4 separate regions of the Homo sapiens genome follow, and regions 1, 2 and 3 are each linked to region 4. The links are contacts of gene promoters, found by promoter capture Hi-C in human tissues and cell types (Jung and others, 2019). All regions are on one chromosome and are shown on one strand. The core of a region is centred on a gene start or on the middle of the fragment in contact, and the rest is flanking DNA. Distances in the headings are between cores, read along the strand shown.

Region 1 (6,637 bases), core at 4,023-6,522, 150 kb before region 4:
CTTAAGTTAAAAACTGCCTGAAAAATATGCCATTTCTGGTATTTACTTTGAGTAAAGTAATTGTAGATTCACGTAATTTCTGGCACTGTCTGTAAATTATAAGATACTAGTTGGACACATATATCTACATGTGCCTAATCTTACATATTTATGAAGGCAATATTAGCCTATCTGATTTTTAAAATCAGTATAGGTTGACTCTCCCTTATCCAAAATGCTTAGGACCATAAGTGTTTCAGATTTTGGGTTTGTTTGGTTGGTTGGTTGGTTGGTTTGCATTTTGGAATATTACCATAAACATAATGAGATATCTTGGGTATAGGACCCTAGTCTAAACAGGAATTTCATTTATGTTTTGTGTACACCTTGTACACTTGGCCTGAAGGTAATTATATTTTTCCTTTGAGGATGCTGAATAAACTGAATTTTATGTGCCTGTGTTTTGACTATGACCTGTCACATGAGATCAGCTGTGGAATTTTCTACTTGTGGCTGCATGTTGGTGCTTAAAGATTTTCAGATTTTGGAACTTTGCAGATTAGGGATGCTGAACCTATATATTAGTCTTGGAAGTTTAGATTAGTTAAACTTTCTTTGAGAAAGCCTACATATCAGAACCAAGTTTTATATCACTAGAATATTATGCTAATGTTATGTTTACACTGATAAAATAAGGGAAAAGACATTGCATTTGTCTTATTTGCAGGCTTTATCTTACTTTGAAATATTGATTCCACCCTTTAGTTACATACCAGCTAGTAAGGTTGTTTACATATTGTAGTAAATAAGCTCTGAGTGCCTCACATTTCTTTCTTATCGTGCAACCTAATAAGCAAGGTGCCTGGCTTAATTCACAGCTAAACTTTTTTCTTCAGAGCCAGAGCTTCAGCTGCAGCAAGAAAGATTTCCTTCAGAAACTGGCATATTTGAATCATTAGGAGTTCAATTTTCAATTTTATTTATTTTTTATTTTTTTGAGACAGAATCTTGCTCTGTTGCCCAGGCAGGAATGCAGTGGCGCAATCTCGGCTCACTGCAACCTCCGCCACGCAGGTTCAAGCACCTGCCTCAGCGTCCTGGGTAGCTGAAATTATAGGTGCACACCACCACAACCAGCTAATTTTTATATTTTTAGAAGAGACAGGGTTTCACCATGTTGGCCAGGCTGGTCTCAAATTCCTGACCTCAAGTGATCCACTCGACTCAGCCTCCCAAAGTGCTGGTACAGGCGTGAGCCGCTACACCTGGCCTGATTTTTTTTTTTTAATTTAGTTATTCTCGAGTTTTTAAATTTTAAATTTGTGTCAGTGCCCATTAGTCTCTATAAACCTATCAGTGCAGGAGCACCTTAGATTTAAAATATTTTATAAATAAATTCATTAACCTGGTAATATTTTGTGTTAAAATTTCTTCTAAGACTAAATATTCCTAGTGTATACACAGAATGCCAAATTTGGTGACCAACTGAAAAAACTGACTAATGGAGAATTAAAGTTTTGTTTTTCTTCTGTCACTCCATACAAATGTTAAAACCATGTTGAATTAAGATTTCTCTGAAGGCGCTTCTATAATTCTGAAATACATTTAGTGTAAATAAAAGCCTGCCACTTTACACATAGGCACAGCAGCTAGGGCTGTAATAAGCCTACATATCAGAAGCCTTGGTTCTTATAAGGGTGGGTGGGAGGTATTACCTGTGTCAAAATTATAGTCACTGTGCTTAACTCAGGACAGACACAGGAGTTCCTTTTACTGCTGAAAGACCTACTTACCCATGACTATGCCCTAATATGTATGAAGGTAAGCCAAGGAGATATGAGCTGTTGCTTCCCTTCTCCTGTCGTATTCAAGAGAAACAAAATAGCCAATAAATCAAATCTGACAACTCCACCCAACTCAAGTTTCCATAATGTCAAGGAAGTTGCTGGCCAGAAATAGAACACAAAATCAGTTATGAGTTGTGGAACCTCAGACAACCTAGATTAAACCAAATAAACTTAGTGAGAACTCAGTGAAAGCAGGTAGGATTTACTGCTGAAAAAGGGTCTTGAGGGACCACCCGGCACCTGTCCTGAATACAAGGGCTGGAAGAGCAGGCTTTCTCTGCAGGAGCTCCTCAGCACTGGCGTGGGGAGAGGCAGGCATCAGGTTAGATTGTTGGTTCCTCTGTCTGTCATCAAAGCCTGAGGTAAAGGCCACCAGAGCTACTGAAAGGAGAAAAGTTGAGCTTATTTACTGGCCAGGCAGTGAAACACAGAAGGGAAGACATTCACTTGGGCAGTTTGCTGAGTAGGAAGAGTCAGGAATTTTTAAGTGGTAAGAAAAGGTGGTTCTGCTCATTGTAATTAGGATTGAAAAGTAGCATTTCGCGTAGCATGGAATAATTCTGGAATGTGGATGTGTACACTTTTAATAAGCTTGATTTTTCATTGGTCAAGAAAAGAGCATTCGGGTAGATCCATCGAGATCTCTACCTCGTTACTCATATTGCCTGGTCATTGATTGCCTTCAGCTGACTAGACCCAGTTGTGATAAAACAATATACTCAATGTTGACATCTCCTACACAAGAGGCACTATAAGTAGAAATTTCTTCTTTTACACTGATTTTTGGGGAAAATTTTATTTACACTAATTATGGAAATAGGTTGGGGGTACCAGGAGGGAGCATCCTTTAAAGTCATTGGGGACCTGGGCTCTGTGTTGTCCACTGCTGAAAGCCTACTGCCTCCTAGAAATTCTGGCATAGAGTAATCTAACAAATCTTTGTTGAGTGGGGAGACAGCAGCTCGGGTGTGTCACATACTGTTTCACTACCCTCTCATGCTCCTCCCTACACCAGGGCTTCTCTGTTCACTCTAAATAACTGCTTTCTCAATCCATCCCCTTGTCCTCATAGGGAAATAAGGAAGGACATTTCCACATGAGTCCTAGGGTTAGACATCTTTCCATCAAAGAAGAAAGTACTTGTGGACATGATTTATCTCAGTGTGCATGGTTGTGAGTTAGAAGGTAATTAATTGTATTGAAGGTGAGGGGGAACTGTTCCATACTGGCCCTATTTACACACCCAAAAATGCCAGGGATGCTTGTGTAGTCTTATATGTAGAGCAGGTCTTAACAAGTGGGTTTTCTAGATTGTAATGCTAGACGTAATAAGTAGCAGTAGGCTGGAGAGTAGGCCATGTAAAGGAAGTCCCGGTTGGATGGCACTTAAGGCCTAAGTGTTTTGAAGCCTAGGGGATCTGACTAAGCTGATTGCTCAGGCTGCCCACTGAGGACTCAGTTGTGACTCACACTTTTCTCTCTGCAGCAGATCCAGAGCCAGAGCTCTACCTCGATCCTTTCTGCCCTCCGGGTTTCTCCAGTCAGAAATTCCCCATGCAGCATGTGCTGTGTAATCATCCCCCCTGGATCTTCACATGCTTGTGTGCAGAAGGTAACATCCAGCCTGGGGATCCGGGCCCAGGGGACCAGGAGAAGCAGCAACAAGCCTCTGAGGGGAGACCCTGGAGTGATCAAGCAGAAGGTCCTGAGGGAGAAGGTGCCATGCCTTTGTTTGGAAGAACCAAGAAAAGGACTCTGGGAGCGTTCTCCAGGCCACCCCAGAGGCAGCCAGTCAGCTCTCGGAACGGCCTCAGAGGGGTGGAGTTAGAAGCCAGCCCAGCTCAGTCAGGGAACCCTGAGGAAACAGACAAATTGTTGAAGAGGATAGAAGTCTTAGGATTTGGAACAGTCAACTGTGGAGAGTGTGGACTGAGCTTCAGCAAGATGACAAACCTGCTCAGTCACCAGCGGATACACTCAGGGGAGAAGCCCTACGTGTGTGGGGTATGTGAGAAGGGCTTCAGCCTAAAGAAGAGCCTCGCCAGACACCAGAAGGCACACTCGGGGGAGAAGCCAATTGTGTGCAGGGAGTGTGGACGAGGCTTTAACCGGAAGTCAACGCTAATCATACACGAACGGACACACTCCGGTGAGAAACCTTACATGTGCAGTGAGTGTGGGCGAGGCTTCAGCCAGAAGTCAAACCTCATCATACACCAGAGGACACACTCAGGGGAAAAGCCTTACGTGTGCCGGGAATGTGGCAAAGGCTTCAGCCAGAAGTCAGCTGTCGTGAGACACCAGAGGACACACTTGGAGGAGAAGACCATCGTGTGCAGTGACTGTGGCCTGGGCTTCAGCGACAGGTCAAACCTCATCTCCCACCAGAGGACGCACTCTGGGGAGAAGCCCTACGCCTGCAAGGAGTGTGGGCGATGCTTCAGGCAGAGGACCACCCTTGTCAACCACCAGAGGACACACTCAAAGGAGAAGCCCTATGTGTGCGGGGTGTGTGGGCACAGCTTCAGCCAGAATTCAACCCTCATCTCTCACAGGCGGACACACACTGGGGAGAAGCCGTATGTTTGTGGGGTGTGTGGGCGAGGCTTTAGTCTCAAGTCACACCTCAACAGACACCAGAACATACACTCAGGAGAGAAGCCCATTGTGTGCAAGGACTGTGGCCGGGGCTTCAGCCAGCAATCCAACCTCATCAGACACCAGAGGACGCACTCAGGCGAGAAGCCCATGGTGTGTGGGGAGTGCGGGCGAGGCTTCAGCCAGAAGTCAAACCTTGTTGCACACCAGAGGACGCACTCAGGGGAGAGGCCGTATGTGTGCCGAGAGTGCGGGCGAGGCTTTAGCCACCAGGCCGGTCTCATCAGGCACAAGCGGAAGCACTCGAGGGAGAAGCCCTACATGTGCAGGCAGTGTGGACTGGGCTTTGGCAATAAGTCAGCTCTAATTACACACAAGCGGGCTCACTCGGAAGAGAAGCCTTGTGTGTGCAGAGAGTGTGGCCAAGGCTTTCTCCAAAAGTCACACCTCACCTTACATCAAATGACACATACGGGGGAGAAGCCATATGTGTGCAAGACGTGTGGGCGGGGCTTCAGCCTCAAGTCTCACCTCAGCAGACACAGGAAGACCACGTCTGTCCACCACAGACTGCCAGTGCAGCCCGACCCTGAGCCGTGTGCAGGGCAACCTTCGGATTCCTTATACTCTCTCTGAAGGCAAAGATGGGGACAAGGACTAAGAGTCAGAATGTTGACACTTTGATGAAATGGAGTAGAGAAATGCATTCTGTAAGTGGTCAAAGGACATTTGACTGTTTACTTTCTCCACACTAAGTCTTCTCCATGTTTTGTGGCCTTCGGTTGTAATAAACTTGGCTTCTTTATACATCTGTAACTGTGCCTGTGTCCCTCATTCACTCATCTATAACAGGGATAAGGAATGATACAGACATCTGAAACCCTTAAGTCCACTATTCCACAGGAATTCATTTCCTCGGAAAACAAGAACCAAATCATTTGCAGATTTATTAGAAAGACTGGACCTTTGTATGGGGAGAGAATCTAGGAACTACATAAAGAGATTTCATGGGATGGGAGGGGATCTTCCAGAAAGTGTAGCTTCCTCTAGTCCGGCTCCATCTGCAGCTACCCCCATCCCTTGGCTCTGACAGCCCCTTTCCTGCTTCTCTCCTCCCAGCTTTCAAACATCTCCGTTGTTGCCTTTGCCCCTGACTACCTTTGTTGTGTTTCTCAGGCTTTTTTAGTCCCTGGTCCTTCCATCGGGGGCCCTCTCACCAATACATTGTCCCCAGCACTCCAGTCCCACGGCCTGGTCTTGCAGCTGTGACCAAGCAGAGCCTTGGATCTCAGTTACACCCATATCAGACCACCAAGAAAATAGATAATCTCCAACCACCCCCAGCTATACCACCTCATCAGCACCTCCATAACTACAGTCAGGCACTGCATAATGTTCGTCTGCGACGGACTGCATATACAGTGGTGGGCTGGTAAGATTATAGTGGAGCTGAAAAATTCCCGTTACCTAGTGACTTTGTAGACCTCCCAGTGGGACAAGATACAGAGGTGGATAAGACAGTGATATGGATCCTGACCCTGTATAGACCTAGGCTAATGTGTGTGCTTGTGTCTTCGTTTTTAACAACAACAACAACAAAAATTTAAAATTTTTAAAATAGAAAAAGCGTATAGGATAAGGATAAAACAAAAAATATTTTCGTACAGCTGTACAGTGTGTTTTTGTTTTAAGCTAAGTTACAAGTGAGTCAAAAAGTAAAAAAATTTAAAGCGTATAAAGTTAAAAGCTACAGTAAGCTAAGGCTAATTTATTATTGAAGAAAGAAAAATTTAAAAATAAATTGAGTGTAGCCTAAGGGTACAGTATGTATGTCTGTAGTAGTGTATAGTAATGTCCCAGGCCTTCACACTCACTCACCACTCACCGCCTCGCCCAGAGCAACTTCCAGTTCTGTAACTTGCCATGTATGGTAAGTGTCCTATACAGGTGTACCATTTTTTTTTTGGCTTTTATGTTGTATTTTACCTTATTTTTTCTATGTTTAGATGCATAGACTCACCCAGAGCAGCTTCCAGTTCTGCAACTTACCATTTATGGTAAGTGCCCTCTACAGGTGTACCATTTTTTTTGTCTTTTATGCTGTATTTTACCTTACTTTTTCCATGTTTAGATGCACAAATAACTTAGCATTGTGTTACAGTTGCCCACAGTACTCAGTGCCTACAGTACTCGGTGTAACCTGCTACACAGGT
Region 2 (6,975 bases), core at 236-2,735, 210 kb before region 4:
GACACCCAATCAGCATTGCACACTACAGCCCAGAACTCCCAGCCTCAAGCGATCCTCCTGCCTCAGGCTCCCAAGAAGCTGGGACCACAGGCATGTGCCACTGCACCCAGCAACATGTGGAATCTAAGAAAGTTGATCATAGAAGCAGAGAGAATAGTGGTTACCAGATCCTGGGGAGGGGAGGGTTGGTCAACCAGTACAAAGTTACAGTTAAGAAGAATAAGTTCTGGTGTTCTATTATACAATAGAGTGACTATAACTATTAATAATAATAATGTATTATATATTTCAAGATAGCTAGAAGAGAGGATTTTGAATGTTAACACTACAAAGAAATAATAAATGCTTAAAGTGATAAATGTGCTAATTGTGCTAATTATGCTAATATGATTATTATACAATGTACCATGTATTAAAACATCATACTGTACCCCATAAATATGTAGAATTATGTGTCAAGTATAGATAAAATAAAACTAAAAAAAATCGCTAGCTTTCATTACCTAGTTTTATTCACACATTATACTAAATCAATGCTCAAAAGTCTTGTTCATGTTCAGACAAAACAATCAAGATTTATAAGTATAGGGAAGCTTCAAGTTGAAAAAATTGATATCCAAGAAGATTCCATCTTGATTTGAACTTAGGCACATTATCAAGCATTTGAAGGGCTAGTTGTTATCCCTTCTGTTGCAGCTGAAAGCCCTGATAAATTAGTTAGGTTGACATCTTAAATTCTCATGACAAATTTTGTTTCATCTCCCTGCCCCAAAGTAAGCCATAAATCAAGCTTTACAAGGACTTAGAGGACTTTTGGCCTGGCATGGTGGCTCACACCTGTAATCCCAGCACTTTGGAAGGCCAAGGCAGGCGGATCACAAGGTCAGGAGTTCGAGACCAGCCTGGCCAACATGGTGAAACCCTGTCTCTACTAAAAATACCAAAAAAATTAGCCAGGCATGGTGGTGCACACCTGTAATCCCAGCTACTCGGGAGGCTAAGGCAGGAGAATTGCTTGAACCCAGGAGGTGGAGGTTGCAGTGAGCCAAAATTGCGCCACTGCACTCCAGCAGCCTGGGCAACAGAGCAAGACTCTGACTCAAAAAAAAAAAAAAGACTTAGAGGATTTTTTTCCCCCTAATAAGTTTCCCAAAGGGTGTGGCAGAGTCTGGAGAAACCTGCTTTTCATGTGCTCCTTGGTTCAGCTGCCTGCTCCCCTGTGGCTTTTAGCAATTTCTTCTTCTGTTTCCGCATCAGTGTAATTAGCAAAAGGCACCATATCCCTGAGGACAACACCCACAAAAATATGAGACTCTACAGCAAGTACTTGCAAAACCTAGAAAAGACACATACCCCTCCCCTAACATGCTTCAATTCCAAGACAACTCATTAATTCATAGAGTAATGTATGTGAGCAAACAGAGAAAATTATGAACTCCAAAGTGAAACCTGGCTAAAGATGTGTAATATAATAAATATATTTACATGCAAAAATAAAGATATCTACATGTGACATATATATGGATCCATATATATGGTGGGATTATTTATTTATAGTAGAATTCCCCAAACTTTCTCAGCTCATTGCACCCTGAGCATCTCAGTAATTTTTCACAGCACCTCCTAGGCCAACAAGAATACCCCAAACTTCCATTATTAGGTTCATACAACATAAGTATTTAGTAGCCACTGAAAAAATACACATAACTCCTAAAAAATTTACTTCCCCCTAAAATAAACATCCTTAAATAAGTTAAATATGAACGTGCCTACTGGGCACTCCACAACTTCTCAAATCCGGAGTCTGGTTGGAACTGACACCTTCACTGCCTGCACCACCACGGACCTTCAATGGTACTTTTTTTTTTGTCACAGCAAACACTGGAAAGTCAGCTTCGCAAATATATAATATCATTAAAAGGAAGGAGCATGGTCTAATGATGAAATGTGAAATACGTCAAGCCAGTCTCAACCTCTCCGAGGCTCAGTTTCCTCACCCTGGAAAGGTAATAAAATAAATGCATGCTTTTTTTTTTTTTTTCCTTCGGAGATGCAGTCTTGCTCTGTTGCCCAGGCTGGAGTACAGTGGGCGATCTCGGCTCACTGCAACCTCCGCCTCCTGGGTTCAAGCAATTCTCCTGCCTCAGTCTCTGGAGTAGCTAGGATTACATGTGCCCGCCACCACGCCCGGCAGATTTTTGTATTTTTAGTAGACATGGGTTTTCACCATATTGGCCAGGCTGGTCTCAAGCTCCTGATCTCTTGATCCACCCGCCTCGGCCTTCCAAAGTGCTGGGATTACAGGTGTGAGCCACCGCACCTGGCCAATGCATGCCTTCCCTACTTAACAGTTGTGAAAAATGAGTGGGATAAAGTGTAAAAAATATCTCTCAGCACTATAATGCACTATAATAATAGACACTTTTTTTTTTTTTTAAGACAGAGTTTCGCTCTTGTTGCCCAGGCTGGAGTGCAATGGCACGATCTCGGCTCACCGCAACCTCCACCTCCCGGGTTCAAGCGATTCTCCTGCCTCAGCCTCCCGAGTAGCTGGAATTACAGGCATGTACCACCATGCCCGGCTATTTTTTTTTGCATTTTTAGTAGAGACAGGGTTTCTTCATGTTGGTCAGGCTGATCTCGAACTCCCAACCTCAGGTGATCCGCCCGCCTCGGCCTCGCAAAGTGCTGGGATTACAGGCATGAGCCACTGCACCCGGCCAATAATAGACACTCTTATGTGTAGTAATAATTACTAAAAATAATAAATTGGAAATGATCACAAGACAAATGGAGTTAAGAAATTAAATACTATGTATTTTGAAAATTATCATCATCTTTAAATCTTGCTACTCAGCATGGCCCCAGGACCAGCAGCAGTGAGAGCTTGTGAGATGAGCCGAGATTGCGCCATTGCACTCCAGCCCCGGCAACAAGAGCGAAACTCCGTCTCAAAAAAAAAAAAAAAAAAAAAAAAAAAGAAATGCAGATTCTCGGGCTTCATCTCAGACTTGCTGAATCAACACCTGCATTTTAACAAGATGCCCAGGTGTTTATGTGCACATTAAACTTTAGGATGGGAGCCAAACGATAAGAACTTTTGAACACAAAGGAGGAAACAACAGACACGGGTCTACTTGATGGGGGAGGGTGGGAGGAGGGAGAGGAGCAGAAAAGATAACTATTGGGTACTGGGCTTAATACCTGGGTGATGAAATAATATGTACAACAAGCCGCCATGACACGTGTTTACCTACGTGACCTTCACATGTACCCCCAAACCTAAAATAAAAGTTAAAAAAAAATTTAGGGAACACCAGTTCAATTTATTTACATTATTTTAAATTGGATAGTTTTAGTAAACTTACTTCTTCCAATCACAATGTAGTAGAAATCAATAACATAGGGAAATCTTGGAAATATCCAAAGGTTTGGAAATTAAATGACACACTTCTAAATAACCCATAGATCAAAGAAGAAATCACGGAAATTAGAAAAATATTGAAACTGAATGAAAATTAAAACACAACATGTCAAAACAAATGGAATGCCTCTAAAATAATACTTAGAGGAATGCTTATAGCACTAAACACCTATATTTTAAAAGAAAAAGGTCTCAAATCAATTACCTATGCTTCCACTTCAGGAACCCAGAAAAAGAAGAACAAATCGAACCCACACTAAATGGAAAGAGAAACTAGTAAAGATCAGAGCAGCTGGGCACAGTGGCTCACGCCTGTAATTCCAGCACTTTGGGAGGCCGTGGCAGGCAGATCATGAGCTCAAGAGATCAAGACCATCCTGGCCAACATGGTGAAACCCCGTCTCTACTAAAAATACAAAAATTAGCTGGGCATGGTGGTACACGCCTGTAGTCCCAGCTCCTTGGGTGGCTGAGGCAGGAGAATCACTTGAGCCCTGGAGGCGGAGGTTGCAGTGAGCCGAGACTGTGCCAGAGCCAAAATCAATAAAACAGAAAATAAAAACAATAGAAAAATCAATGAAACATAAAAAGTTGGTTATTTGAAAAGTCAACAAAATTGATAACTGTTTAGCTAGACTGACAAGAAAAAGAGAATGAAGATATAAACTTCCAAAATAATCAAGATGAAGGAGGATGCATCACTGCATGCCCAACAGAAATCATAAGAATTAAAAGGAACTATTACAACTTTATGTCAATAAATTAAACAAGTTAGATGAACCAAATTCCAAGCCAGGAAACTACTAAAACTGACTCAAAATAACATAAAATCTGAATATGTTAACATCAGTTATAGTTAGTAATTTTATCCATTAGGATTAGTAATTTAAAATCTTCTCACAAGGAAATCCCAGGCCCAGATTGTTTCCCCAGAATTCGTTTGATGAAGTCCCTTGTAAATTCTATCAAACATTTAACGAAAATGAATGGGCTAGTACAATCCAACACAAATTCTATAAATAAGTATTATAGAAAGGTAAAGAACAATTTCCAACTCATTTTATTAAGCCAGTATTACCCTGACACCAAAGCTAAAGACATCATAAGAAAAGAAGACTATGGGTCAGGTGCAGTGTCTCATGCCTGTAATCACGGGATTTTGGAAGGCCAAGGTGGGTGGATCACTTGAGGCCAGAAGTTTGAAACCAATCTGGCCAACACGGCAAAACCATGTCTCATCTCTACTAAAAATCAAAAATAAAAATAAAAATAAATCAGCTGGGCGTGGTGGTACATGCCTGTAATCCCAGCTACTTGGGAGGCTGAGGCATGAGAATCATGTTGAACCTGGGAAGTGGAGGTTGCAGTGAGCTGACAGCATGCCTCTGCACTCCAGCCTGGATGACAGAGCGAGACTCTGTCTCAAAAAAAGAAAAGAAGACTGAACAAATAGCTCTCATGAACAAAGATGCAAAATCCTTAACAAAATATTAACAAATGAAACCCAAGAACATATAAAAAGAAATTGTGGTGGTTTTCACAAATAGCCACAAATACTTTGATACTGCTCCCTTTAAACTATGAATCCTAACTGTCCTCTTGATTGTGGGCTGAACTTAGTGGGTTACCTCTAATGAAAAGAATGCAGTGGAACTGGCAGTGTTAGGATCCCAAGGGTAGGTCACAAAAGGCATTGTGGCTTTCTCTTTGCTCCTTCTCTATTTTCCTTATTATCTCTGGGGAAAGCCAGCTAATGTGTAATCGGTCCACTCACACAGCCCTGCACCCTATGGAGAGGCAGACATGGCAATGAACTGAGCCTCCTGCCAACACCCAGCAAGGAACTGAAGCCTCCTGCCAAGAGCCATGTGAGTGAACCACCCTGAAATTGCATCCTCCAGGCCCAAGCAATGCATCAGACTACTGCAGCCCTGGTTGACATGGTTTTTTTCTTTTAAGCTCCTTTATTATTTTGTTGAGGTGAAATGCATATAACATAAATCAACCATTTTTTAAAAGTACCTAATTTAGTGGCATTTAGCATATTACAGTGTTATGCAACCACCACTCCTTTCAAGTTCCAAAACATTTTCATGACTCTCCTCTCAAAAGCAAAACCATGCCCATTAAACAGTCACTCCCCATTCTCCCCTCCCTCTAGCCCCTGGCAACCATCAATCTGTCTTCATGAATTTACCCATTCTGGATATTTTATATAAATAGAATTATATAATATGTGACCTTCTATGTCTGACCTTTTTCACTTAGCATACTGTTTTTGAGGCTTATCCACATTGTAGTAGGTATCAGTACTTCATTCCTTTTCATGGCTGAACAATATTCCATTGTGTGCATATGCCACATTTTGTTTATCCATTCATCAGTTGATGTACATTTGGGTTGGTTCTATCTTTTGGTTATTGTGAATAGTGCTGCTATGAACATTTGTGTACAGATATTTATGTAGCTGTGTTTAATTCTATTGGGTGTATAACTATGAGTGAAATTGTCAGATAACGTGGTAATCCCGTTTTACTTCCTGCCAAATTGACAAACTGTTTCCCACACCAGCTTCATCATTTTACATTCCCACCAGCACTATCCCAGAGTTCCAATTTCTCCACTTCCTCACCAATATTTGTTATTTTCCTTTTAATTTTTTAAAATATGGCCAGACTAGAGTCTCATTGTGGTTTTGATTTGCATTTCCCTAATGATTAATGATGTTGAGTATCTTTTCAAATGCTTATTTGCCATTTGTATATCTTCTTCCAAGAAATATCCTTTGCTTAGTTTTGAATTGGGTTGTTTATTACGATGTTGAGTTTTAGGAGTTCTCCGTGTATTTTGGATATTAATTCCATATCAAATATGTAATTTAGGTCAGGCATGGTGGCTCACGCCTATAATCCCAGCACTTTGGGAGGCCGAGGGAGGCGGATCACTTGAGGCCTGGAGTTAGACACCAGCCTGGCCAACATGGTGAAACCCTGTCTCTACTAAAAATATAAAAATTAGTTGGGCATGGTGTCACACACCTGTAATCCCAGCCACCCAGGAGGCTGAGGCAGGAGAATCGCTTGAACCTGGGAGACAGAGGTTGCAGTGACCTAAGATCGTGCCACTGCACTCCAGCCTGCTCGACAGAGTGAGACCCCATCTCAAAAAAAAAAAAAAAAAGTCTGTATCTGACACTGGCACATAAAGTGGAAAGCAAGAGTGAAAAATTATGCTGAAAACTGGGGAGATCGAATTAAAATTCTACGTATGGAATCCCCCTGAGAGCTCAGTCCTCTTTCTACGCCCTTGTGAAGGAACAGTGCACATCCTCATTTATTGCCAGGTAGAGAAAAAAAGTGCAGACAAACCAGAGAATTCTTCTCTAACAAAAAGTTGAGTGAGCGGCTGGAGAAAGCCAAGGCTTCTCACATATCGTTCCCTGCAGCAGAGCTCTCTCATGTGATCACCCCCAGCATCTGCAGCCTGTAGCCTCTAGATTGAAATCTTTTTTTTTAAATATCCCCCGAGGGTTGAACATTCCTGGAGGTACT
Region 3 (7,011 bases), core at 3,807-6,306, 250 kb after region 4:
CCAAGTAGCTGGGATTACAGCCACGCACAACCACACCTGGCTAATTTTTGTATATTTAGTAGAGATGGGGTTTCACCGTGTTGGCCAGGCTGGTCTCAAACTTCTGACCTCAAGTGATCTGCCCGCCTCGGCCTCCCAAAGTGCTGAGATTCCAGGCATGAGCCACTGCGCCCGGCCACGAACTGCTGTAAACATTTCTAAACACTCCCATTTTTATACTTACCTCCTCACAGATCTGCACAAACAGTTCAGGGCGGGCAGTGGTCTGTTGCCCTTTCTTTGAGCAGCACTGGCTTAGAGGGCAATCTTTTCTAGCGCTGTTGTCAACATAAGGAGATACTGCCCTCCCACCTGCCCCCGTGGTGGCAGCAGGAGTGCCCCATACCTCCTGTCATCTCCATCAGTTCTGAAGGCTGCTCAAAATACAGGTGTTTTGTATTAAGTAAAAGCGATGGGTTTGCAGTGCAAATACAGCTTCAAGACTGGACTTCCTCCCCACTTAATCGATTGCCACTGCTGCGTCCCTTCTTTGTAGAACTTCTGGGGCTATCTCTGCCTGCCTCTAGGACAACAGTGCTTGCTGTTAGACTAGTTCAGACTGTCAGTCTTCACATGTTTTGCAAGCATATTGATGTACAGAGCGTGTTATTTCCCAGCCTCTGTTATAGAATAAGACCCTTTGAAAAGACTTGTACACAATAAATGTGATCAATAAATATGATCACAATAAATATGATCCCCCCTTTGCAAATTCCTTGCAAAGCCCAGGGTTTTATATTGGCAGCCCTGCACAGAAAGGTGCATGTTTATGTAAATCAATGTGGTATGTACCTAGGGTGATATAATCATATAATGAGCTGCAGCTTCTCTTCCTCTTCATCACCATCATCATGTTTGGGTAAAGATGGTTGCCATTTCCCTCCCTCATGGTCATTATTTCTGTATTACTCTCCATACCTCCTTCCATTTCTTTCTGGAAGGTGTTGAAAAATCTTTACCAACCATCTACCTGGCTCCTAAAGGTGCAGGTCATGGCTATGTCTGAGACTGGCAAGTTCTGTCCACAGGTCTCACCAGATGGTTGGGCAGTCCTCCATGGTCATCACCTGTGGGCAGACGGTCACTAAGGGCAATTGGGGGGACAGAATACCTAGGCTGATTGGAGTCATCCTTTTTTTATCAGAGTGCCAGGTAGTTGAATTTGTGTAAATTAGATGTTCTCATGATGCAATTTATAATACCCAGGTGTACTTGGTATAAAACTTCTCCTGGGGAACCTGACAGATGAAAACAGGGAATGGAAGCAGCTGACAAGTCAGGACATTCCAACTTACCTTCATGCCCAGAAGTTAGAGGTCAGGGAGGGGTGGGACACTTTCATTTGTGAGTGGTAGTTCTTTTTTTTTAATGCCTGGAAAACCATTAGAAAACAGGCAATCTGGAAACTTTGGGCCTTACTCCTAATTTCATTTTTGATTTTAGAATGTATTAGGGTAAATAACTTATTCTGCTTGTATTTGAGGATTTGCTGACTTCTGAGAGCACCATGTATTCACTTCCATTATGAATAGGGCAGCTTTATGATATATTGTCTACATTTTGGAGTATTGAGAATGAAGGGGACAAGAGGTATAAACTTTGATTGTCCTGGGCAAACCAGAACATGTGGTCAACCCTAGTTATGAAGATCAATTTAGGTTATTCATCCTAAAACCAGAAATTTTGATAGAACTGACAGGTTAGGTATCATGTCTTATCCTAATAAAATTTTCTATTAAAACTATGTAAATTCAGTTTTATGAAATAAATCTATACCAAGATCATTTCATAAAAAATGGACTTTTTGAGAAAATAAAAAATGACATTGTATTTTCAGAATCTTTCAAACATATTCTGATCTTTTTTTTTTAATTGACAGTGTTTGAAGGTAAATAGTGACCATGGTTTTTGTTAAGAATTCATATGTAAAATATGTCCCTTGTTTAAAATTATCTCAGAGATTACTCTCATTCAAATCTTTAATCAGTCAGTTTATTATTCATAAGTCTGGTGTTTCTAATAAAATTCTACCACATGAAACAGAATGGTGTTTAATAAGATAATAAGCTTTATAAAATGTAAAAGTGAACACCTTAATTATTTTAAATTATATCAACTTTAGAAATGACTGTATAATTAAGACTTGCCTATAGCTTAGAATACTCTTAGGAAAGATTCACTGTACTACTTCTCAGTCAACAGCCCTTAAATGCAGGTGGCTGACAGTGGCCTGTGTTACCAATGTAATTGGACGGTGACATGCCTCTGGCCCTGGATGATAGTGCCACCAGAGCCACATGCCTCCTGTGTAGAGCCAGGAAGGGGCTCTGTGAGTGAGTTGAATCATGGGCCCGTTTTCCCTGTGTTCTCTCCTTTGGCCATTTGAGGGTTAAGGAGGTTGGGCAGACAGTTTTTGCCTTGATGGGTACTGGATACTCTTGTATTCCTATGACAGTACTTGAATTTTTCGTGAAGTTACTTGAAATCACTTTGGTTACTTTGGGTCTGGATCTTATGATTTCTTAGGTGAGTCTGGAGCAGTGCTCAGTAGGACTAATTCTTCCCACTACTGCAGTGAGTCCTTCCTGAGCTCCATGGAGTGGTGGGAGCAGGCGCTATTCTCAGCCCTGTGTGAGCGCAGGTGTTGTAAGCACTAATCTTTTCCTGACCTTGTGTAGTTTCTTTACCTGCTTAGTACTCAGCTGGATGCTCCAGGGGCCTTCTGCACAACTCCACTGTTCTCCCTCTGTGCAGCTGTCTCCTCTCCAGTACTGTGTCCTGAGTGCTTTAGCTGAGTGGCCTCCGGGACTCTCAACCCCATCTCCTTTACTCAGGAAGTCCTCCAGCCTCTGCCTTGGTTTCCCTCTCATACTGTGACCTGTGAACTCTCCCTAGGTGGTCAGATGGAGCTCCCATGGGGCTTACCTGGCTTGTTGTTTCCTGGCCTTTGTTGCCTGAGGTCCTGTGTCTTAACAACTGTTGTTTCTTAGGCTTGTCCTTTTTTTTTTTAAACTTCAATGTGATGGTGTGAGGATAAATTTGGTTCCTGTTGGCCCATCTGGGACAGAAGCAGAAGTGTCAGGACAGTGTTTTTAAAAAATCATGATCTGGTGTAGGTTTTTTTCTCGTGAGCTGTTCTTACTCTGAGTCCTCTTTCTAGGTCAAGGGCGGTATCTGGGTTGCCTTGAAGTCCTTCCTGCTTCATTGTGCTTATTTAGGTAGAAACCTTATTTAAGAATCAGCTCAGGCCAGACACAGTGGCTCATGCCTGTAATCCCAACACTCTGGGAGGTGAGCAGGAGGATCACTTGGGGTCAGGAGTTTGAGACCAGGCTGGCCAACATAGTGAAACCCTGTCTCTACTAAAAATATAAAAATTAGCCAGGAGGCCGGGGTGGGGGTTGCCGGGGGTCGGGGGGCACGTGCCTGTAATCCCAGCTACATGGGAGGCTGAAGCAGGAGAATTGCTTGAACCTGGGAGGTGGAAGTGGTTGCAGTGAGCCAAGGTGGCACCACTGCACTCCAGCCTGGGTGACAGAGGGAGACTCCGTCTCAAAAAAAAAAAAAAATCTAACTTCTTCCACAAATATTTCTTCATCAACTCCATTCTGCATGGGTTTTTCCTTAGAGTACTTAGGGACTCTAGTGTTCAGTGGCATACTGTTACCAGTGTTTCATCTTTGTTTTACAGTGATTAAGTCTTCACTTTCCAAACTTCTTGAGCCAGGGGTTCTTGTTTGTAATTTTTTGTGCTCTCCACAGGGATTAGCACAAGAATAAGCTCATAAACATTAGCAATTGTGTTTTGAAATTCTTTCCTTTGTGACCACAGGACACATATGATATCATTTTCATAAGTACTGTGTGTGTGTTGTGGGGGTGGGGGTGGGGGGGAAGCCAGGATGAAGTAGTGACTCTAATCCCATGATCAGATGTCAGCAAGACTGTCCTTGCTCCCGCAGTGGTCTCTCTCACTTGTGTTTTAGCTGGCTATTCATTTACAATGGAATCATTGGATCATAAGTCAGCATGGACCTCGACCCGAGATCCCATATGAAAACGAAATCTTAACAATGGAGACACATGCCATAAATTAAGGTAATTCCCTCCCACAGGCTTTTCAATAAAGTAGCAGTGGGCCCACTGTGTCTGCAAAGGTCCCCAGTGGAAATAAAACCCCCAAATGCACATATTTGGGATCCACAAGCTTACCGGATACTTCTCTACTGTGGCTTGCTCTAAGCATAGAACAATCATGACCTTACGTGGCTCACGCAGAACCCATTTTACCAGTAGCTGTGTGGACACCGGAATGTTTTCTTCCTTCAGCTCCCCCAAATCCTTTCGTGTACAGACTCCCCTCCTTACCTTGCCACATAAGGTACCAGTTTCATCAGAGGCATCTGGCAAGGCTCTCATGGTTTGACTGTCACCAGATCTCTCTGTAATGGGATTACCATTTTAACCTGTTCTCTTTCCCTCCCCTGTCCTGGGTTTCCACTTTCCCAGCCTTCCTTCTTCCTTTGGCCTTGGCCAGAAGGGGCTGCTGGAGAGCTGTTCCCGGGGCTCACCATAGCCTCTGCTCCCCCTCCCATGGCCTCCTGCCGAGGCTGGCCCTCCGGGCATCTTTTGCAGAGGTCACTCTTTGAAAGATGCCTTTTTTTGTGCTCCTCTGCCAATTGTTCTTTCTGTCTAGTGTGTGTCCTCCTGGCATTTCAGGAGCTGTTTCATGTAGTGTCTGACTTTATAGGTGTGCACCTAATGACTTTAAAAGGCTTATTTTTAGGTTGCTGTTTTCTTCCCCAAACCTTTTTGCTCCTTCAGAAATGTCCTCTTGTTAAAATCTTCCCAGGGTTTCTATGCATGCTTGAGTGCTTGATTCTCCAGTTTGATTGGATGAGCAAGCCCTGCTTCCTGCTTCCTTTAGAAATATTCCACCCTGGAAGGGACCTGACAGGATGGTAGTGGCTGTGGGTGTCTGCATTGGTTGAGCTGCTCAGTGTTTTTGGTCCAGAGACTGGAGCAGGTCCCTGGTGCACAGAAAAGGATTTGGAGGATCCTTAGCCTGGGTTCACGTCCCCACCTTCATCTTCTGACCGTATCCTCCGTTCCTCCTTTGTCAAGCCTTAGGCTGTTTTTTTCTGCATTGGTCTTCCCTGGACATTCTTTTACTTACCTTGGTTCTTCGTTCATGCACTTTCTCTAGACTAAGGTTTCTCTCTGCTCATATAGTTATCCCCATTCTTGAAGGCTGCACTGAAGACCATTCAGTGTCTTCGGCAGCTCTTGATGTTCTCTCCTCAAGGGCAGGTTATACCCTCATTTTGCTCTCCTGTTGTGACATAGCGTGGTTGTGGATAGAGTGGTCCTTCTTGGATGTTCTGTTGCCTTCACGCAGGTGAGCTGCCCAGAGCCCAGCACGGTCTGGGTTCTCATCCAGAGCCTGGTCTGACCTGAGGAGCCCTGACCTCCAGCCTGCACTCCACCGTCTCCTGGAGATGTGACCTGGAAGGCCCAAAGGTCTGCACGCTTTAGCTCACCATCTGTCAGATGGGGGTGACTGTGAGGCCTACCCACCCTTCCTCATCATTGTTAGAGTCAAAGGAAAGGCAGGATGAGAAAGGGGAGTCTATTAGGTAAACACAGAGCAAATTATTTTGCCAAGTCATTTAACCTCTTAGGACCTGGTTTTCTAACCTGTGAAACAAGAAGGCTGTACTAGATATGTATTTTTGGACCAAATAACCTTTTTTGTTTTCCCATTCCCAACCACTTGTGTGTTTGTTTATTTCCTCTGATCTGGGGTACTGTTTCATCAGGCTTCTTGTTCTCATGCTTGGGTTCAAGCTGTTTTTATTAACATAAATCCCCACATTCTGTGCTGATGATTTCTTGCTATGGGGATAATTCTCTTTTTCTTCAAGTTTCCTTCTCCTTGGAGCTAGTTTTAGGACTTTTCATTGACTCTACTCTTCACAGGTAGAGGAGACTAGTTAGGATAAGTAGTTTTTTCCTTTGTTCATTTCTGTGGCTCCTGTGCACGTAGGCTTCTGAAGAAGCACAGATCCGGGGTGGTGGAATTGACAGACACTGTCTCCTGCAGTGCTGCTTGGAACCAGGGTCAAGGCCATCGTCTAAGTGGGACACAGTGAAGCTGTCCTTTAGGAGCACTGAGGCCTCTTCTCTTGGTGTCTTTCTCAGATGAGGAGCAGGTAAGAAGATTAGTTTTGATGAATCATCCAAGTCCTGGAGAAGCTTTAAAAAATTTCTCCTCAGGGCAAAACTAATTTCCTATTTCAACTAGAAGATTTCTTTCAATAGGTGATACCTTCAGTACCCCAAGGAGAAACTGGGTGCCGACACTCCTGCCCCTTCAGCCAAACGCCTGTGTTTGGTGATATGACATTGGTGATATGAACGAATGTCTATTGTCCAGGGCTTTTAAGAAGTCTCTGGTTCCAGTGCACAGGCCTTTCCTAGATTCTAGGCTGTGCAGGCCTTGTCCCTGCTTGTATCTCAGTGACAGCCTGAGGACCAACCCTGACTTTGGACACCAGGCTGGGCCAGCTGGGGCTCTGCCTTTGCTGCATCTGCCATTGGTCCACCCCGAGTGGGTGTCATCCCTGAGTCCTAAGTAGTGACCAACTACTGTCATACACTGTCCCCTCCCCCACTCCATTTCCCCCAGGGTCAGAACACAGCAAGCCCTGTCCCTAAACTTGTACTCCAGGGACATTATGGAAGGGTGCCTGCTCCCCCAGATCACTCCCTTGACTGGGACCCCTGTTGTTGATGGTGTGCTCCAGGCTGAGTCAGCCTCCCCACCCACCCTAGCAGTTGGGGAACTCTTCTGCATATCTGCTTCATCTTTGGATTGTGGCCCTTTGAAGGCTCCCTGTAAGCTCCCTGTCCTGCAGTGGTTGCTAAGTGGTGTCTGGCCGTGTACTGGGCTACAGCATTCACGGTCAGAGA
Region 4 (6,818 bases), core at 4,319-6,818:
TTTCCTTTTCTTTGTTTCTTTTGCAATTATAAGCACTATAATAAATAATTTTGTAAAGAATTATTTCTGTAAATATATGGGCAAGACAAATATGTAGAACTAGTTACTGCTGAGTCAAAAGATACATGCATTTGTAATCTTTTTTTTTTTTTTTTGAGACGGAGTTTCACTCCTGTCATCCTGACTGGAGTGCAGTGGTGCGATCTTAGCTCACTGCAACCTCTGCCTCCCGAGTTCAAGCGATTCTCCTGCCTGAACCTCTTGAGTAGCTAGGATTACAAGCACCCACCACCACGCCCAGCTAATTTTTGTATTTTTAGTAGAGACGGGGTTTTGCCATGTTGGCCAAGGTGGTCTCGAACTCCTGACCTCAGGTGATCTGCCCACCTCAGCCTCCCAAAGTGCTGGGATTACAGGTGTGAGCCACCATGCCCTGCCAGCATTTGTAATCTTGATTAATATTTCCAAACTGCCCTCCATGGATGGTTAAGCAATTTACACTGCCACCAGCAATGCATGAAAACACCTATTTGACCACAATCTTCCTCATCTAGTGTGTTATCCATTTTTCTTTTAGTTTTCCTAATTTCCTAGGTTAAAAAAAATACTATCTTGTAGTTTCAATTCATCTTTCTTGCATTTTGAGTAAAACTCACTAATTCATTACAATGAATGTTTGCTGAATACCTATTATGTACCAGACATCATTCTAGGTATAGGGGATATGCAAAAGTATATCTTAGGGGCTCCTTGCATATCCCCTGTACCTAGAATGGTCCCTGCTCTCATGGAGATTATGTTTTAGGAAGGACACTGAAACAGTAAACAACCAAGGAAATGTAGTTTGTCAGGTGGTGATTAAGTGCTTGGAGGTGAAGCAGGGATAAGTTCTGCTCAGCAAGCAGACGAAGGGGCAGAGAGAAGCGTAAGGAGAAGAAATATTTTCATATGTTTAAGAGACCTTTATATTTCCTTTCCTACAAAATGTCTTTTCATTATTTCTCAAAAGAAGATATACAAGTGGCCAACACACACATGAAAAAATGCTCATCATCACTAATCATCAAAGAGATGCAAATCAAAACCACAGTGAGACACCATCTCACACCAGTCAGAATGGCCTTTGTTAAAAAGTCAAAAACTAACAGATGTTGCAGAGAAAAGGGACACTTATACACTATTGGCAGGGATGTAAGTTAATTCAGCCACTGTGGAAAGCAGCTTGGAAATTTCTCAAAGAAATAAGAGTTGAGGCCGGGCGCGGTGGTTCACATCTGTAATCCCAGCACTTTGGGAGGCCCAGGCAGGCAGATTAAAAATACAAAAATTAGCTGGGCATGGTGGCACACAACTGTAATCCCAGCTACTCCGAAGACTGAGGCATGAAAATCACCTGAACCCAGGAGGCGGAGGTTGCAGTGACCCAAGATTGCATCACTGCACTCCAGCCTGGGTGACAAAGTAAGACTCGGTCTTAAAAAAAAAAAAAAAAAAAAAAGAAAGAAATAAGAGTTGAAATACCATTCAAGCTAGCAATCCCATTACTGGGTATGTACCCAAAGGAAAATAAATTGTTCTACCAAAAGGACACATGTACCCATATGTTCCTTACAGCACTATTCATAATAGCAAAGACATGAAACCAACCTAGGTGCCCACCAATGGTGAAATGGACAAAGAAAATGTGGTACATACACACCATGGAATACTATGCAGTGATAAAAAAGAATGAAATCATGTCCTCTGCAGCAAATGGATATAGTTGGAGGTCATAATCCTAAGCGAATTAACACAGGAACAGAAAACGAAATACCACGTGTTCTCACTTATAAATGGGAGCTAAACATTAGGTACAAATGGACATAAAGATGGGAACAATAGACACTGGGGACTACCAGAGGGTGGGGAGGGCTGAAAACCTACAGCAATGCTTGCTACCTGGGTTATGGCCTCAATCATACCCCAAACCTCAGCACCACACAATATACCCAGGTAGGAAACCTGCACATGTACCCCCAAGCCTAAAATAAAAGTTGTAAAAGAAAAAACAAAAAAAAGGTCTTTTCATATCCTTTGCCCATTTTTCTTCTGGGTTACTGTTCTTTTTGTTACTGAATTGTGAAAACTATTTATTTATTTGATATTTACATATTAGGGAATTTTGATACCCTACCATTCATATCATCTTTTGTCAATAGTCACCCAACTTCTCCTAAGAATTATGGGCACATACATTAAAATGTTTAATTTGGTTTGACAGTTTAAAAAATTGTATCAGCTTTTAAGCTAAAGGAGAACACAGATAATAATACATATGCTTAGTTAGAACTCTTGGTCTAAGCAGCACAGGGGTCATAACATAAATGCAGATAGTTTGTACACATTTCAGTTATTAAAATATATAATTGGTTAAAAAAAGGCAAAAATTGGAATTTCAAAGTCTTTTTTACACATCTATTTGTTCATATGTTTTACCTGTGAAACTTTCCTTCCTTATGTTAATTATATATGTGTATGTATATATATGTGTATGTGTAGATATACACACATATTTAAGATTTTGAAGAATACGTATTAGCAGGATATACATTCACTGCTTTATTTCTTTTTTCTTTTTCTTTTTTTTTTTTGAGATGGAGTCTTGTTCTGTCTCCCAGGCTGGAGTACAGTGGCGCCATCTCGGCTCACTGCAACCTCCGCCTCCTGGCTTCAAGCAATTCTCCTGCCTCAGCCTCCCGAGTAGCTGGGATTACAGGCATTGGCCACCATGCCTGGCTAATCTTGTATTTTTAGTAGAGACAGGAGGCTGGTCTCAAGCTCCTGACCTCAGGTGATCCACCTGCCTCAGCCTCCCAAAGTGCTGGGATTACAGGCGTGAGCCACCAGGCCTGGCCCTCACTGCTTTATTTCTGTAGTTAGAGTTGAGATTTATTTTCACATTACTATATGCCAAACCCTGTGCACCTCATACATACACGAACCTATTTATCCTCACAATGGCTCTAAGAAGTAGATATTATTATTCCTGTCTTACAGTGAGGTAACAGACTCAAAAAGGCTAAGTAATGTACCCAAGGTCACTAGAAGTTGTCAAGGCAGGGATTAAGTCTCCAACCTGTCTGACTGGAAAGCCTGTATCAGTAGGTCAAATTTATTATACCAGCTAAATAATGAGCATATTGGAAAAGTTTGGGGAGCACCGGGACTTTTTTTTTTTTTTTTTTTTTTTTTTGAGACGGAGTCTTGCTCTGTTGCCTAGGCTGGAGTGCACTGGCGCGATCTCGGCTCACTGCAACCTCCATCACCCAGGTTCAAGCAATTCTCCTGCCTCAACCTCCTGAGTTGCTAGGATTACAGGTGCCCACCACCATGTCTGGCTAATTTTTGTATTTTTAGTAAGACAGAGTTTTGCCATGTTGGCCAGGCTGGTCTTGAACTCCTGACCTCAAGTGATCCACCTGCCTCGGCCTGCCAAAGTTCTGGGATTACTGGTGTGAACCACCGCACCCGGCCAGCACCGGGACATCTTACCTTGGCTAAGGTAAGTCAAGACATTGCTGAAACTATACAAATGAAAGGTTGGTCAAAGCTAACCATTTTAATCTAAATGTATACCACTCTATAAACCATCAATGTACAGCACTGTTTCAAATTTTAGAAGTTTTACAAATTTCCCAAAAAGCTGAGCAAAGAGTGAGAAAGCAGGCAAAGAGATAAACCAGCAACCAGATAACACAAGAAATATGACAATGTTATTTTAAACAATTTCAAACATATGTGATTCTTACCTGATTTCATTTCCAAAAGCGTATTGTTATCAATTTCATGGTTAGCTTTTCCAGGCTGAGGCACTCGTAATGGTATGATCTGAGGGACACACACTGAACCAGCAGTCATTTTCTCTCTCTCTCTCTCTCTCTATATATATATACATATAAATTCCAATGTACACAAAAGCTGAAGAGCAGCACTTAATTTAAATGCAGCAAAACTAGTTAAAACGAGAGAATACTGTTAACATGGCACTACAAATATTATTCCCTTTTTAATTGAAATAATAATTACATTTCATCTGTATTTGCTGTTGAGGTCTTGTGTGGGGTTTTGATTATCTAAATACCTCACTTCTGCGAAAGGAGCATGAATGAATGAGATGGGGAAAAGAAAGAAGTTACTTTAAAAGGACAAATTAAATGAGTAAGGCAAAACAGAGACTATCACTAACGCTCTGACTTGAGTTCCCTGTAAATCATTATCGCCTTTTCCTGCCTCTGGTGTGTGTCAGCTCTCTTGGCTTCAGGGCAAGTCATCATACAAGGGGAACAGAAGTAATTCTGTGTGTACCACAAAATGTTAGTTAGAGCTAACTTTTTTGGGAAAGCTCCGGGTTCACAGCCTTGCCATTATCACCAGAGCAGTTCTAGTATTTGAAAGCTGCAAAGACACTTTAGAAGGACTGCAGAGTACTACTTCTCAGTGGAAAGGAAGTTTGCAAGAATATAAACAGTGACCAATAAACACAAGCCTCCCGTTTCATCTACTGTATTTATAAATCCTGGTATTAATAATTAACTACCAGTATGAAAGCCTTACTGGTCTTTTTGGAGGTGAGGGTGGGGAGGAAGGTTGTCATAATTAATGCACAGAAGGTTTCAGGGGGAAAAAACGCTCACCTTAACACAACAACCATTTACATCTCTGTATTGCCTTTTCAAATTTCATTAATAATCCATAGATTTTGCCCAATTATAATCTACATATTCATTCCATTTTTATAGTCTACTTCTTGCATTCTCACTGTATTATTTAGTTTTCCCTGTACTTATTTATCCATTTGTGGCTGGGCATTTAGGCTATTTCTAGTTTCTTTTTAGTTTTGCCTGTTGCAGTTCTAATAATGCTGATCTGAACATGTCTGCAGTTTGAGCTTTGTCACAGACTGTATTCTCAAAAATGGGGTACCTAAATTTAAGGGGTGAACTTAATGCCTTGTTGGATAGTTCCGGATCTAGGGCCAAGAATATAAACTACAGATACTGACAGCACAACAATAGCTCCTACGGGAGTGTGGCTGGACTTGAGACTTGCCCATAGTCGCATTTCCATTTAAGTGAAAGGCAGATAAAATAAAAGTAGTTGAAAAATTCTAAATAAAAAATATGTAGGAGAGGAAGTAATTCGCGAGCGTCAACTAGCAGCTGCCCTTAGGAAGCTGGGGTGGCCAGTGGGCCCCACGCAAAGGGAATCAAGAAAAAAGGCGGATCCGCCAGGCCCAAATGGCAACGTGCAGTCAACAGGATCCCCAGACCCCTCAACTCTCCCAACGTGGACCGCCCCCTCGCAGCCCGGATCCGGAATCCCGTTTGGTTGTTCCCGCCCATCAGGGGCTGCCAAGGACACCTGCATCCTTTCGGCTGGAGTAAGGGAAGCTCTTCCCCTCCTCTAGCCGCCCTCCTCTTCCTCTAACCGCGGGGCCCGGGATCGGGACCCCTAATGCATCTCTGCCGCGCCCAACCCAGTCGCCAGCCTCTCACCGCCTCTTGCCTCCTCCTTCGCCGCCGCCCGGGTTACCACAGACGCGGCGAGCCGCGCCCCGCCCACTGGGTGCTGGGCAGATGATTGGTGGAGACTCAGCTTCTTAGCAACTAGACCGGCCCCTGCCGCTCCGCAGGGAGCCTGGTACCCGCCTGGAGTTCCTTTCCCAGTGCTTTCCCATAGGCATCTAAGAATATTCCTTCACAGAGTTGCCAAGTGCTAAAAGTTGGTTTCCCAACTCAGAATGAAGGAACCAGGCTTGTGCGTCCGATGGGCATTGACATTCTGGAAAACAAGAATAAGAAGCTGTAGCGGCGCCTGTAAGTGGGCCGGAGCAGGCGCAGCTTGGCCACCTCCCGCCGAAAGGCAAGGAAGGACCGGCTGCGACACGAGGAAGAAGGCCCCTCGGCCTCAGCAGAGCGCTATCCTCCACTGGTTCCCCGGGTTCCCCGGCTTGCTACCGGGCTGCTCCGTGCATCTTTCCCCCCAGGCGTCAGGAACTGCGCCCTCATGGCGGAGGTGAAGGTGAAGGTGCAGCCGCCTGACGCGGATCCGGTCGAAATAGAAAACAGGTAAACCAGTGAGGCTCCGGCTTGGCACTCCATCAGGCGCCCAGTCATTTGGGCAGCTGGACCCCTTCTCCGGGATCCCTTGGGAGTGGCCGGAGCGGGTTAGGTGAGCACGCGGGAAAAACGATTGCGGGGTTCTGGACCCACTTGTTCCTTCCCATCCTGGGAGAGCAGAACTCAAGAAGTTCAAAATGGGTTTGACAGCTTGCAACTTTGTGTAGCTGGCTGGCTTTGCCCTGATACTTTTGGGGAAGTTGTGATGACGTGCTGCCTTCCTACTTTGACGCGATCAGTGCTTTGAGAGGAGCCCTCGGCTTTCTTTCCCTGTAGAACACTTGTGAATACATGTTCTGATCCAGGATCGCTCTTGTCACTAAGGGAACGTCTATGACAAAACGTTTAGGCGGAGTTAGGGCGCAGTTGGTGATTACGAAGTAACATTAAGCCAGGTGGTTTCAGTGCAGTATTGAACTCAAGACTTTTAGGACACCCAAAGCCTCTGCCACTTTTATTTTTATTTGTTTGTTTGTGAGACAGAGTCTCGCTCTGTCGCCAGGCTGGAGTGCAGTGGCGCGATCTCGGTTCACTGCAATCTCCGCCTCCCGGGTTCAAGCGATTCCCCTGCCTTAGCCTCCCGAGTAGCTGGGACTACAGGCTCGCGCCACCACGCCCAGCTAATTTTTTATGTTTTAGTAGAGACGGGGTTTCACCATG

The links. The method cuts DNA at HindIII sites, captures the fragments that hold promoters and counts their contacts. A contact is called where the count stands out against the background at its distance.
Region 1: a contact is called between a fragment that was not itself captured here and the fragment with the promoter of DZANK1 in region 4, in 1 of the 25 tissues and cell types used here (spleen).
Region 2: a contact is called between a fragment that was not itself captured here and the fragment with the promoter of DZANK1 in region 4, in 1 of the 25 tissues and cell types used here (spleen).
Region 3: a fragment that was not itself captured here is called in contact with the fragment with the promoter of DZANK1 in region 4 in 2 of the 25 tissues and cell types used here (lymphoblastoid cells and spleen).

The regions. Positions count from the first base shown.
Region 1 is chr20:18,311,757-18,318,393 of GRCh38, forward strand. It overlaps ZNF133 (zinc finger protein 133), which reads left to right. Exons shown (of 7, transcript NM_001352452.2): 7 at 3,313-5,240. The coding sequence ends at 5,060. ZNF133-AS1 (ZNF133 antisense RNA 1) reads right to left here. Exons shown (of 9, transcript NR_187570.1): 7 at 4,956-5,056; 8 at 4,074-4,243; 9 at 1-2,207. Among named protein-coding and RNA genes, the nearest start is that of ZNF133, 27 kb to the left of the region's middle. The HindIII fragment of the contact is 8,391 bases long and covers 1,078-6,637 here.
Region 2 is chr20:18,258,741-18,265,715 of GRCh38, forward strand. It overlaps the pseudogene RN7SL14P and the pseudogene RNU2-56P. Among named protein-coding and RNA genes, the nearest start is that of ZNF133, 26 kb to the right of the region's middle. The HindIII fragment of the contact is 6,505 bases long and covers 1-4,738 here.
Region 3 is chr20:18,708,479-18,715,489 of GRCh38, forward strand. All of the region lies in intron 4 of DTD1 (D-aminoacyl-tRNA deacylase 1), which reads left to right. Among named protein-coding and RNA genes, the nearest start is that of DTD1-AS1, 13 kb to the left of the region's middle. The HindIII fragment of the contact is 3,760 bases long and covers 3,177-6,936 here.
Region 4 is chr20:18,461,462-18,468,279 of GRCh38, forward strand. It overlaps DZANK1 (double zinc ribbon and ankyrin repeat domains 1), which reads right to left and starts at 5,569. Exons shown (of 21, transcript NM_001367614.1): 1 at 5,535-5,569; 2 at 3,789-3,916. The coding sequence starts at 3,897. It overlaps POLR3F (RNA polymerase III subunit F), which reads left to right and starts at 5,929. Exons shown (of 9, transcript NM_006466.4): 1 at 5,929-6,107. The coding sequence starts at 6,046. RefSeq lists enhancers at 5,449-6,067, 5,690-6,009. The HindIII fragment of the contact is 23,548 bases long and covers 1-6,818 here.